Linked DNA regions of Homo sapiens: region 2 is linked to region 1. Evidence: promoter capture Hi-C in 16 types of primary human blood cells and fetal thymus (Javierre and others, 2016). All regions are on one chromosome and are shown on one strand. Each heading gives the region's core, a stretch centred on a gene start or on the middle of the fragment in contact. The rest is flanking DNA. Distances are from core to core; before and after follow the strand shown.

Evidence for each region. Contacts are between HindIII fragments. The CHiCAGO score rates a contact against its expected background, and 5 or more counts as called.
Region 2: a fragment that was not itself captured here is called in contact with the fragment with the promoter of PDLIM2 in region 1 in 3 of 17 cell types (naive CD4 T cells, naive B cells and activated CD4 T cells); the score reaches 7.5 in naive CD4 T cells.

What each region holds. Positions count from the first base shown.
Region 1 is chr8:22,579,225-22,585,427 of GRCh38, reverse strand. It overlaps PDLIM2 (PDZ and LIM domain 2), which reads right to left and starts at 4,953. Exons shown (of 9, transcript NM_001368120.1): 1 at 4,731-4,953; 2 at 3,898-4,049; 3 at 538-607; 4 at 266-411; 5 at 29-107. The coding sequence starts at 4,823. RefSeq lists enhancers at 83-752, 3,027-3,719 and silencers at 3,058-3,352, 4,917-5,006, 5,737-5,896, 5,907-5,996, 6,097-6,166. The HindIII fragment of the contact is 20,077 bases long and covers 1-6,203 here.
Region 2 is chr8:22,748,309-22,754,115 of GRCh38, reverse strand. The region is part of intron 4 of PEBP4 (phosphatidylethanolamine binding protein 4); the gene reads left to right. LOC107986925 (a long non-coding RNA gene) reads right to left here and starts at 4,310. Exons shown (of 3, transcript XR_007060852.1): 1 at 1-4,310. LOC124901908 (a long non-coding RNA gene) reads right to left here. Exons shown (of 3, transcript XR_007060855.1): 3 at 4,338-5,807. The HindIII fragment of the contact is 3,734 bases long and covers 1-3,386 here.

The DNA of each region.
Region 1 (6,203 bases), core at 3,704-6,203:
CAGCCTGTCCTCCCCCAGGGAGCCTCACCTGTCGGCTTCCAGGGCGGCCTGAGTAGGACAGGCGGTCAGCAGCGGGGAGGCCCGGGGAACATGCCAGACTCTGGAAGCTGAAAGTGGGAAAGGGACAGTGTGTGCCAGGGCCACCCCCAGCCTGCCCAGGGAGGATGCTGCCCCGGGCTCCCAAGCAGAGCTCCTGAGACTCAGAGGAGCCAGCCTGGAGCTGGCAGCGCAGGCGACCAGGGTACCCACTCACAGGCACACTCACCTGCGGCTGATGGCTGCCTCTCCAGTGAGGGAGCTGCTAGAGGGTGGTGGTGAGAAGGGGCTGCCGGCCCTCGGGCTGAGGGAGGTTGGGCTGGAGTAGGAGGACCTTAAGGAGGACTGACTCTCAGTGTATGTCCTCACGGAGCCCTGTGGAGAGAGTGACTGTGTCAGGAAAGGCAGGGCTGCCCCGCCAAGGCCGCCCTGCCCTCGGGCCTCACTTTCATGCACCAGTGATCAGGGTGCTGAGGCTGTCAGGGGAGGGCACCAGCTTACCTGGAAGCGAGTCGCCAGCACTTCCAAGGAGCTGTCCCCATTGGTCTGCCCTGGAGACGTAGCCTGAGACCTGAGAAGGCAACAGAGGGAGGGAATGTCACAGGGGCCCTGCACCCTGCAACCCCCAAAAGAGGCCAAAACTGTTCCCAGATCTAGTTCTCAACACCAGTAAAAGCTACAGAAAATTTGGACATCCGGTTGTCAACTTTTAACTTTGTCAAACTCAAGACAAACAACTATCATCAATGACAACCATGGTTCCTTAAAAGAAAGGACAGTTGGCCAGGCACATTGACCCACGCCTATCATCCCAACGCTTTGGGAAGCCAAGGCAGGAGGATCACTTGAGCCCAAGAGTTCAAGACCAGCCTGGGCAACATAGGAAGACCTCATGACTACTAAAATTTTTTTTTAAGTAGCTGCACATGGTGGTGCATGCCGGTAGTCCCAGCTACTTGGGAGGTTGAGGTGGGAGGATCGCTTGAGCCCAGGAGATGGAGGTTGTAGTGAGCCGTGATTGTGCCACTGCCTTCCAGCCTGGGCAACACAGCGAGATTCTGTCTCAAAAAAACACCAAGGCCGGGCACGGTGGCTCACGCCTGTAATCCCAGCACTTTGGGAGGCCAAGGAGGGTGAATCTCTTGAAGTTAGGAGTTCCAGACCAGCCTGGTCATCAACAAGGTGAAACCCCATCTCTAATTAAAAAAAAAAAAAAAAAAATTTAGCCAAGCCATAGTGACGCATGCCTGTAACACCAGCTACTTGGGAGGCTGAGGCAGGAGAATTGCTTGACCCAGGGAGGCAGAGGTTACAGTGAGCCAAAATTGTACCACTGCACTCCAGGCTGGGCGACAGAGTGAGACTCCATCTCAAACGACAGTAACAACAGCAAAACCCACCCCAAAAAAAGAAAGGATAGTTTGGTTCTAAAAAGTAGAACGTACATAACTTCATCAGAAAGTTCAAACATTCAGTTTTATTAGAGAGTCCTCACATTATCCTGCCCTTTTTTTTTTTTTTTTTTTTTTTTTTTTTTCTATTTTGCCTGGACTTTGTCACTGATATCACTCAGCCTCGGGTTTGTAGATTGATTTGGGGGAAGATTACTGATTTTTTTGTTTTTTGAGATGGAGTCTCGCTCTGTCACCCAGGCTGGAGCGCAGTGGTGCAATCTCGGCTCACTGCAACCTCCACCTCCTGGGTTCAAGCAATTCTCCCTGCCTCAGCCCCCCAGGTAGCTGGGACTACAGGTGCCCACTAGCATGCCCGGCTAATTTTTGTATTTTCAGTAGAGACGGGGTTTCGCCGTATTGGCCAGGCTGGTCTTGAACTCCTGACCTCAGGTGATCCGCCCGACTCGGCCTCCCAAAATGCTGAAATTACAGGTGTGAGCCACTGCGCCCGGCCTGATTACTGATTTCATAGAAATAATCCTTTATATTTTAACCCATGGAGAAACTGAAACCCAGAGAGGGAAAGTGAGCTGCCTCAAGTTCTAGAGCCCACGGTGACTGGGCCAGCTGTGCACCCTGCCCACTGGAGGCCAGGGTGCCTTTGAGCGCGTCACTCCTGATCCCTTTCTCAGGGGTCTCCCCAGTTAAACAAAGGGCGAGACCCGCCTGCCTCCTTCCAGACAAGTAGGCCCAGCTCCCCACCAGCGAGAGGGGCACGCCCTCCCAGCTCCCTGGGTACCCTCTTCCAAAGTGGAACCCAGCTGGAGCCCTGAATGGGAGGTAACTGAAGTCTGGGCTGAGGGACAGCCTGCCTCGTCCCATCTTGCCACACATTCCTGGCCGTGAGGCTGCCTCTAGAGATGTAGGGCAACAGGACCCTCCGCTTCCTGGGAGAGCCATGGGATCAGGGTGAGGAGAGCTCAGTCTCTGGCTCCAGCCTGGAGCCCTGCTTCCTGCCCCAGGGCTTCTGAATACCAGAGAGGTCACCTGGGAGGGTAGGAGGCGGGAGATGGGGGCGGGGGGGGGGGTGGGCATCACGTCAGCAAAAGTAAGGAGACTGGGCCGGGCGCGGTGTAATACCTGTAATCCCAGCACTTTGGGAGGCTGAGGCAAGTGGATCACGAGGTCAGGAGATCGAGACCATCCTGGCCAACGTGGTGAAACCCCATCTCTACTAAAAATACAAAAATTAGCTGGGCGTGGTGGCACGCGCCTGTAGTCCCAGGTACTCAGGAGGCTGAGTCAGGAGACTCTCTTGAACCCGGGAGGCAGAGGTGGCAGTGAGCCGAGATCACGCTACTGCACTCCAGCCTGGCAACAGAGCGAGACTCTGTCTCAAAAAAAAAAAAAAAAAAAAAATTAAGAGACTGGAGTCTGGGCTTGCCTGGTGCAGAACCAGAGGCCTGACTTACAGCCCAGGCCTACCTCCCCCGAGCCCTGGTCCCTCCAGAGAACCCCAGAGGAAGAGACAGTCCGAGGCTCCTGCCCTTCCGCTGCCAGACCCTCAGCCTCCTGTAGCTTTCTGCCCCATTCCCAGATGCCATGAGGTGCTCTCTACCCTCCTTCTTGGGGTCCCGCTCCTGCAAACACCCAGGGACCTGAATGACATGAAGGGAGCCGGCTTCTGCCACACCACAGGGCAGGGCAGTTGGAGAAGGAGGGGCTTGGTAGGGCTGAAGAGAGCAGGACAATGTGGGGGTGGCCAGGATGCAAGAGGTGTCTGACTCAGGTTCTAGGCCCGTGCAGAGGGCTCTCCTGGCTCGGGGATCTCCTGGCATTCCCGATCTGTGACTCACTGCAATGCCCCACCCCAGGGAGCCACCTGTTCCCCCTATAGCTTGGCCTCCAGGCCCCACCCTGGCCCCACCTTGGCTTATAGGCTCAAAACCCTAGGAGTAACCCAGGATCGGGCATCTGCCTTCAGTGATGGGGAGGAACAGACAGCCTCTATGAGGAATGAGCCCCCCAAGTCCTCACTTCCAGCTGGGAACTAAACAAAGGCCATGCCCTGTTGGAAGCAGGAGTCCTGGGGATGCAGCCTCGGGCATACCTTTCCCAGAAGGTTCCCCTCTTCAACCCACTTCATGCCCACGCCCTGTGCCCTGCACACTCTTGGGAACCAGTCAAACCCGGGCTTCAAGGTGGCTGGTGCCAGCTCGCCCTGCCCAGCCTGTGACTGCACGCCCAGCCTGGCGCCCACCTTTACCCAACCAGGCATGGGAACACCCCTCAGCCCACCCTGCTGCAGGAAGCAGAGCCCAGGACCTTCTCACCAAGGTGTGGAGAGGGCCCAAGAAGGCCGCTTTAGGGCTGAGCTCTAGCCCATGGGCAGGAGCAAGGGCTGCTCAATACGTGGGGTGGTGGAGGAGGGGGAATGCCACAGGCTCTGCAGAGCGGGAGGCCCTACCGGTCCAGCTGCAGCCGCAGGGGCGAGGGGCTCTGGCGGATCTTGCTCTGGGCCTCGGCATGCAGCATGCCCTCCGCGCTTTCCCCGTTGATGGCCACGATTATGTCTCCAGGCCGGAGGTCAGCGTCCTTGGCTTTGCCCCGCTCGGCCACCTGTAGGGATGAGGAGCTGGCATGCTCAGACCGTGGCCCAGCTGGAGAAGGGACTTCCCACTCTGCTACCCAAGAAACACAGAGGCTGGCTTGACCCAGGCCGGCCTGCACCCTCCTGCATGTCCCTCTGCCTGCTCATGACACCCAGCTGATCAGCCATCCCCTCCAGGAGCGCAGGTGGCAGCCCCCACCCCACACTGGCATTCTAATGGGCCTCCCAAAGAATGTGCAGTGGCAGAATTTCAGGAACTGTGCTTGGAAATACTTTTGGATAGAGAGCCTTGCCCGTGCAAATCGCACCTTGCAGGTGGCTGCCTGCACAGCCCTCCTGTGAATGTTCCCAGCCTGGGCCCAGGTCAAGAGGAGACTGCCAAGAACTCCGGGGCTCTTGTTCTAGTAATCACCCCAAATGGCTGCCTGCAAGTGTGGGGATAGCAACTGGGGAGGCAAGAGCCGGCCCTGTCCTGGTCCCAGCTCCCTTTCACTCCCAAGGTCTGTTCCTGAAGTGGCCACCACATCCCCGTGGCAAAGGGCCACGGCTCCCTTACAGCCAGCACGCCAGGCAGCAGCAGATCCCTAGCTCCAGAACAGAAAAAGCAAGCCATCTGTGCAGAGTGGGGTGAACAGGGCCGACCTCGCTTCTGGCAGGACCTTCTCATCTCTTTGAGCCACCATCCTTACCTTAGTCACCATGATGGGCGTGTGGAAATCCCTGCCCCCTGTGATACGGAAGCCCCAGGGCGCTGGCCCGGCCACATCCACCGTCAACGCCATACCTGAGGAAGAGAGGACCAGGAGGTGAAGTCCATGCCCCTAGCCGGCTCTGGGGGCACTGTAAGGCAGCAGGAGAGGAGCCAAAGGGAGAAGGAGAGGGCACCACAGCTCCCGGAGCAGCTACTCAGGGGCTTTGGGGTGGGTAGAGGAAGTGGCTAACTCCCTCCCTCAGCCCGGTTTCACTTCCCCCCACCCTGGGAAGCCATGCTTCTGGGTTCTCCCTTCCTTAGTCTTCAGCCCAGGGAGCGACTCCCAGGAGGGGGCTGCCCAGGCTGCCAGGCAGGGGGCTTGCTGGAGCATGGGGGGCAGGGGCTGGCAAGTGGAGGGGATGCCAGCACCCCCTCAGTCTCCCCTCCTCCACCATCAGGGCTCAGTCCCACTAGCGCTTGCTTCCTGTCCCCAAAACCCACAGCACACGGTACTTCCTCTCCACTCTGGGGGAGGGCTGGTGAGTGGCCTAGGGAGAGCAGGGCTCAGGAAGCAGGAGTGACGGGTCAAGGAACAGGCTGGCACCAGTACAGACTGTGTAAGTCACTGGCCAGGTGAAGGACTGGTGGGGTGAGGCCGAGTCTTCACATGGGCCTCCTAGCTGCCCACCTCGTTCTTGGCAAAGTGGATCACACGGGCAAGACCGGGCTCCCCACCTCCCCCAGGGGCCGGCTGCCAGGGCAAGGAGGCCAGGGTTCATCTGTCAAGCTGGACACACCCACCCCCAGATTCCTGATGCTGCCCGACAGACAGCCGGGGTGACAGGCCTCCCATCCACAGCCCCTCCGCTGGGCAAGGAAGTGCCCTTGCAGACAGACCCCTGTGGGATTTCCTGAGCCTCTAGCTCTGGAGCCAGGAGCCAATCCAGGCAGGAAGCCGCGGTGCCAGGCTGGGCACCACCCTGCCCAGCACCCATCCTGGGGCTGCCCTGGGGACGCAAGTGCTGCGAGAATCTATCAAGAGCACCAGCGGTCTGTCCGCTCCATCCCCGGCTGCCTTCCCCTTGGGCCCAGGCCTAGCCTCTGTTCCCAGCACCGCCCCCACCCCAGTCCCCGAGGCCGGCTCGCGGCCGCCCCGAGATTCCCAGACCTTTGAGCCGGTCAGTGGACTCCGCGCTGCGGGCGCCGCGGGGAGGTGCCCAGCCCGATGGCCCGGCTCTACCAGTTCTGGAGCCTCCTTCGCTCCGAGGGCAAAGTACCCTGCGGGCTGGGGGCTGGAGGAGGAGCGCTCCGGCCGGGGAGAGCGCAGCTCGCGGGGGCGCCCCCGCTGATGCGAGGCTCCAGGGAGCTGGGCCGCGGACGAGGCCAGGGTTCCGCGCCGACAGGGGCGCGGAGAGGAGCCCGGCGCCGGGGAGGGCGGGCCGCGCGGAGAGGCGCAGGTGGGCGCGCTCAC
Region 2 (5,807 bases), core at 270-2,769, 170 kb before region 1:
GAAAGATAAAATTTGATCTGTTTGCTTCCATTTTCCACTTTCTCTTCAACCCTCCTCTCCCTCCATCTGAACATACCCCATCAGCAACCCTCGTTCCTGCTCTATAGTCAGACTTTCCCATCTTCTTCCCCATTTGGGACCCTCAGCCCACACCCTCAGCCCACACCCTATCAAACATGTAGAATCAGCAGAGGTTGTGGGGAGGGGCCCCACTCACACCCAGACAGATGTGCTCTGTTCCCCGCACAGCTGTCCAGGCGGTAGCCCATCTGCGCTCACTTCCTGCCTCCCAGCTCCAGCCCCTCACACCTCCCACACAAGGGCGGGGAAGTCTGGTCCTGAGATTCATCCCAAAGCCAATGTTGAGGCGGCCACCAGCCCGGCAAAGCCCCAGACCCTGGCTCCCACCTTCCCCTCTCCTCCACAAGGAGTGGTGGACCAGGAAGGGCTTCAGCAAGGTGGAGACTTTGCCTAAGCCACTCTGGAGGACTCTGCCTTGAAGTTCAGCTTCAGTCTCTTGGCAGTTGTGGGAGCTGCCTAGCTCTGAAGTTCTCCCAGCATCATGTGTCCACATGAAACACGCCAATATCACTGATCTGATTTCATTATTTTGTCAAGATTAAAAGAAGGCTGCTTCACTCGAGCCAGCTATATCCAAGGGAAGAAAATTATATTTTCAAGAGAGTTTGAGGCACAAATCTGTCCCACCTTGATTGTTGTCTCCTTGTCAAAGTTCATGCGGCCCCCAGTTTCGATGCTGGAAGGTGGGTTCTGCATTACTGAGAGATAGTTTCTGGAAACCTGCTTGTCTCTGGGATGCTCACAGCTCCCTCCTGACTCCTGAGCAGGGAGCATCTATTCTCTAAGAATATAGGGATGGTGCAGGCAGCTGTGTGGTTCCCATGGAATGAACACTCCTTAAAGGCAGGAATTATTAACAGTGAGACTATTAATTTTTGTATCCCCTGTAGTACCCAGCCCTGTCTCTGCACCTGGTAGGCACTCGATCAATGTGCGCTGAACTAAGCTACCAGGATACTTCCCTGACCACACACCTGGGCCAAACAGGCAAGTGAGGAATCTGATTAACCTGCTCCATTTGCCCTTAGGAAACTCAACTTGGGCAATGGGGAAAAGAGGAGACATAGCAGGAATACGTCTCCAGCCTGGAGAAGGGATGGGGTGGTGAAGGAAGGAGAAATTGGACTGTAAAATTAACGGGCATCCCCAGCTAAGCCCACAGCCTTTTCTTGACTATCATGTCCTAATGCATGGGGAGTTAGGCAGAAAGATGACGACCTCTTCCCTTTTCCTAGAAACAGAAATGCCCTAGGAGTTTATGCAAATTCTGGAATCCTGCCTCTCCAGAATAATGGCATTGCCTTGGTGGGAACCAGCTGCTGCAGGCAGAAATGAGCCCCCAGAACAAGGGCTGGGGCCAATAACAGGAGCAGAGAGCTAGCCCAGACTTTCTGGTTGCAAGAGGAGATTCCCTTCCACGATGACTGATTGTAAATGAGGAGCATTTCTAGTTCACCCCACTCTCCCCACGGCATACACAGACACGCGCAGTCTTGGTATATGACTTTGGGTGAGAGGCAGTGCAGGTCCTTCTCCCAGGCTGGAAACCCGTTAACCAAGGGTGTGGATTTGGGCCTTTTGGATTGCTCCCTTAAAGTGAGCTTCCACAGGGTCTATGGCCAGGCAACCGTAGACTTAGTTTGCTTTATTTGGTAAAGTATCTAAGAAAGAGAAGTTCTTTCACAAAGGCATTCATGTCACCTTTTTTATCCATTTTACAAATCTGGCCACTATGGTTGTGACAGAGACCCTGAGATTCAGGTCCCAGCCTGAAAACACCCATCTCCTGATAAGCCTGAGCCTAATGTAACAGACAGGGAGGATGGGACCAGACAGGGTGGCTCACGCCTGTGATCCCAGCACTTTGGGAGGCCAAGGTGGGAGGACTGCTTGAGGCCAGGAGTGAGTTCGAGACCAACCTGGGAAACAGCAAGACTCCAACTCTATAAAATATAAAACTTTTTAAAAAAATTAGCCAGGCATGGTGGTGTGTGCCTGTAGTCCTAGCTACTCGGGAGGCTGAGGTAGGAGGATTGCCTGAGCCCAGCAGGCCAAGGCTGCAGTGCGCTATGATCAAACCACTGCATTCCAGCCTCAGTGCCAAAATGAGACCCTGCCTCAAAAAAGAAACAAAAAGAAAGAGAGGGTGGTTGAGTGGGTGGCTGGTGATGAGAAGAGTGGGTGACTGACAATGGGAAGGCAGGCTGATCTGCCAGCAACAGGCAGAGGCCAAGGGCCCCATCCACATCTGGGGCCTCTGAGGCAGGCTGCCTGGCAGAGGAGACTGCTTTGTTTTAGGAACAGTGATTTATGCTTCTTGTGGTTTCAGTCAAGAGCAACCCAAAATGTTCTGTAAATACAAATATATAGACGCACAACACACACACACACACACACACACACAGAGACACACACACACACACAGACACACACACACACACACACAGACACACTCCTCCTTATCCAAGTCAAAGCCTCCTGTTTCAGCAGCCCAGCAATGATTTGGGGCCTCTCTATCTACCACCGATTTAGGAGAAAGGGAAAATCCACATTGATACATTCACCTAGATTCCTCCCTTAGTTCATCAAGATAGGGAAGACCTAGGGTCTCACACGTGTTCCTGGACATCAGACCCAAGTTTCCCAAGGCAACCAGGATTTGCAGGGAAGAAGCAGAGGTTTGTTCCGACCACCCCCAAGAGTGGCAGGTTGTCTTGGGAGCCCTAGAGCTCACGGGTCTCTCCCAGGCATGGCAGCATCTCTAGGTGTCTGACTTGAGGGCCTCTTCCTCTGCTCTCCTACTCGTGGGATCTTAGTTCCGAGTGGTCACCCTTGCCAGCCCCAACCCTATCCAGAAGCACGGGGCTTGACCTTGGAGCTCCTGCAGCACGGATTCCCTGGGACAGATTTCACAACCCAGCACTGAGTCTTACCACAAGTTTCAGACAAAGAAGGTGTGTTGGAGCCGAGAGCATGCTTCTGCCCGCTGCGTGGGCGTCAAGTTCAATGCCTTCTTGTCAACACTTGAATGTGTTGAACATCACTCACAAGGGCATTCTTTAAGAAACCTATTAAGTTAATTACCCAGGCATTTTTTTCTCTCTCTCTCCCCCTATCCATGCATCTCATATAAAAAGAAATTTGGCTTTCTTCCTCTCTGAGATACTTTTGATGTAACTCTTCTCCCCTCGGCACAATAACATCTTGTTTATTTCTCTAACAGTCAGTCAGGGTGGCTGCACTGTACAGACTGACCCCTTTGCTCAGGTCTTAGTTCCGAGAGGGAGCTGAGAGAGAGTGAAGCTTGACCCTAGGGATGGGGAAGTGGCCCATCTGACCCCCTCCTTTCTAACTGCCCAGCCAGAATGCAATCACAAGGATGAGAATAGTCAAGGAAAAAAAACAAACTCCCACGGGATATTCCCTTCCTTCCCATAGAAGGTGAAACAGGAGTTACCCCAACGGGCAGATCAACAAGTACCTAAAAAGCACCAGCCATGTGCCCAGAACCATCCACCTTGATTTTGGAAGAAGAAAAAATTCTGCCCAGATAAATTTTTTCCAATTCCAGCCCCATGCACATCCAAGCCCCTAGGAAAATGAAAGCATTAATGTATCATAAAGAATCACAAACTGGCTGGGCGCGGTGGCTCACGCCTGTAATCCCAGCACTTTGGGAGGCCACAGCGGGTGGATCACAAGGTCAGGGGTTTGAGACCAGCCTGACCAAAGTGGTGAAACCCCGTCTCTACTAAAAATACAAAAATTAGCTGGGCGTGGTGGCAGGCACCTGTAATCCCAGCTACTCAGGAGGCTGAGGCAGGAGAATTGCTTGAACCCGCGAGGTGGAGGTTGCAGTGAGCCAAGATCACACCACTGCACTCCAGCCTGGGCAATGGAGCGAGACTCAGTCTCAAAAAAGAAAGAAAGGCTGGGTGCGGTGGCTCACGCCTGTAATCCCAGCACTTTGGGAGGCCGAGGCAGGCGGATCACATGAGGTCGGGAGTTCGAGACCAACCTGACCAACACGGAGAAACCCCGTCTTTACTAAAAATACAAAATTAGCCCCACATGGTGGCACATGCCTGTAATCCCAGCTACCTAGGAGGCTGAGGCAGGAGAATCGCTTGAACCTAGGAGGCAGAGGTTCCAGTGAGACAACATCGTGCCATTGCATTCCAGGCTGGGCAACAAGAGCGAAACTCCATCTCAAAAAAAAAAAAAAAAAAGAATGACAAACTGAGAATCAGGAGAGGTGGGTTGTAGATCCACACTGCTGCCCGTGACTGGTCCTATGGATGCCGTGGCCCTGAATTTGCTCCTCTGTAAAAGGCAGGGGGTGGACCTGGCTAAAGGGTGGCTGACCTCCCTTGCAGCTCATTGGTGCCTGCATAGCTGGCCGCAGCTACCCACCTGGATGGGGAATCTGCTCACAGGAAGGGAAGGAAAGGAAATGCTCTGTTCAGACAGTGAGCAAACGAGGGCCATCTCAGAGAGCTGATCCACAGGCTGTGTTTGGTGGCCGTGCCCTTGCTGGTGACACCCCTGACCAGGGAGGGAGGAGATGCAGGGCCTGGGGAGGGCATGGCTCTCCAGCTCTAGCTGGGTAGGTGGAGGCCGTGAGCCCGGGAAGACAGTTGTGCTCCTAGGCTGACATTACATCAATGGGATGTCTTGCCTACGGAGCTAAAACAAGAAGAGCTGCAGAGAGGTCTACAGAGACACGTGGAGGAAGCACCAAGTAACCAGGCCTCAGCCTCCCAATCATTGTATTATGGGAAGTCAGGGCTGCCAGCTATGATAAAGAAGGAACACACCCCACAGCTTCTTTGCCAAGACCATACATAAGCAAAAAGCAATTTTCAGAACTTTCCAGCCATCCCCACTCTCCTTCCTACTTCCAGGAAAACAAGAGCCCTGAAGCAGATGCAGAAGCTCCACTGGTGCTATGGGACACCCCTCCTGTTCCCACATCCCACACCCACCTCAGTCCCCTGACCCCAGATTGTCATCTCCCCAGTCCCAGCAGTGGAACCCCCCAAATTCTCCACAGACCCATCTGGGTACACAGAGCAAAAAGCATTGATGTGGTGAGGCCTCTCTGCAGAATCCCAGAGTTCAGAGGTACCCAAGGGGTCCTCTGGGCCAACACCCTTCCCCCAGGCAAGTCCGCACCTAAATCATCCAGGACTCGTGGAGGCCTCTCCTGTTCTCCTGGGGTGTGTAGTGGTGGCCGAGAAAAGGCCTACCCTGCATGTGGGAGCCTCGTAGCTTCTGGGGGGCTCTCTTCTATTTTTCTGGGATGCTCTTGCTTATAGGGAACCCCAAGACTACCAAAAGCTGTTCCACCCACCTCCCCACCCTCCCTCTGACTCAGGGCTGCTGACAGCCGGGTGAACTCTGAGTCACACCCCCTCCTTGTTCTCCCCTCAGACCACCCTCATCATGTGCAACCTAGTACAGAAGAATGCTGGGGAGGGGAGAAGAGCAAGTGGAGCCTAAGGACTTGACCCTGAGCAGCTGAAGGTTGGGAAATTAGGATCACAAGTCCTCAGTGCCCTCTCCCCTCAGGCATCTAGCATGCAGTTTCGCTCTGATGCAACTCTCTGCCAGGCGGGTTCTGTGACCCAGCATCCCGGAGGCTTGGGTACCTTCTGGGGCAGGAAGAGAAAGTATCTTCTTCTCTCCACACTGTAGCCACATTCCATCAATACGGACTGATGGGC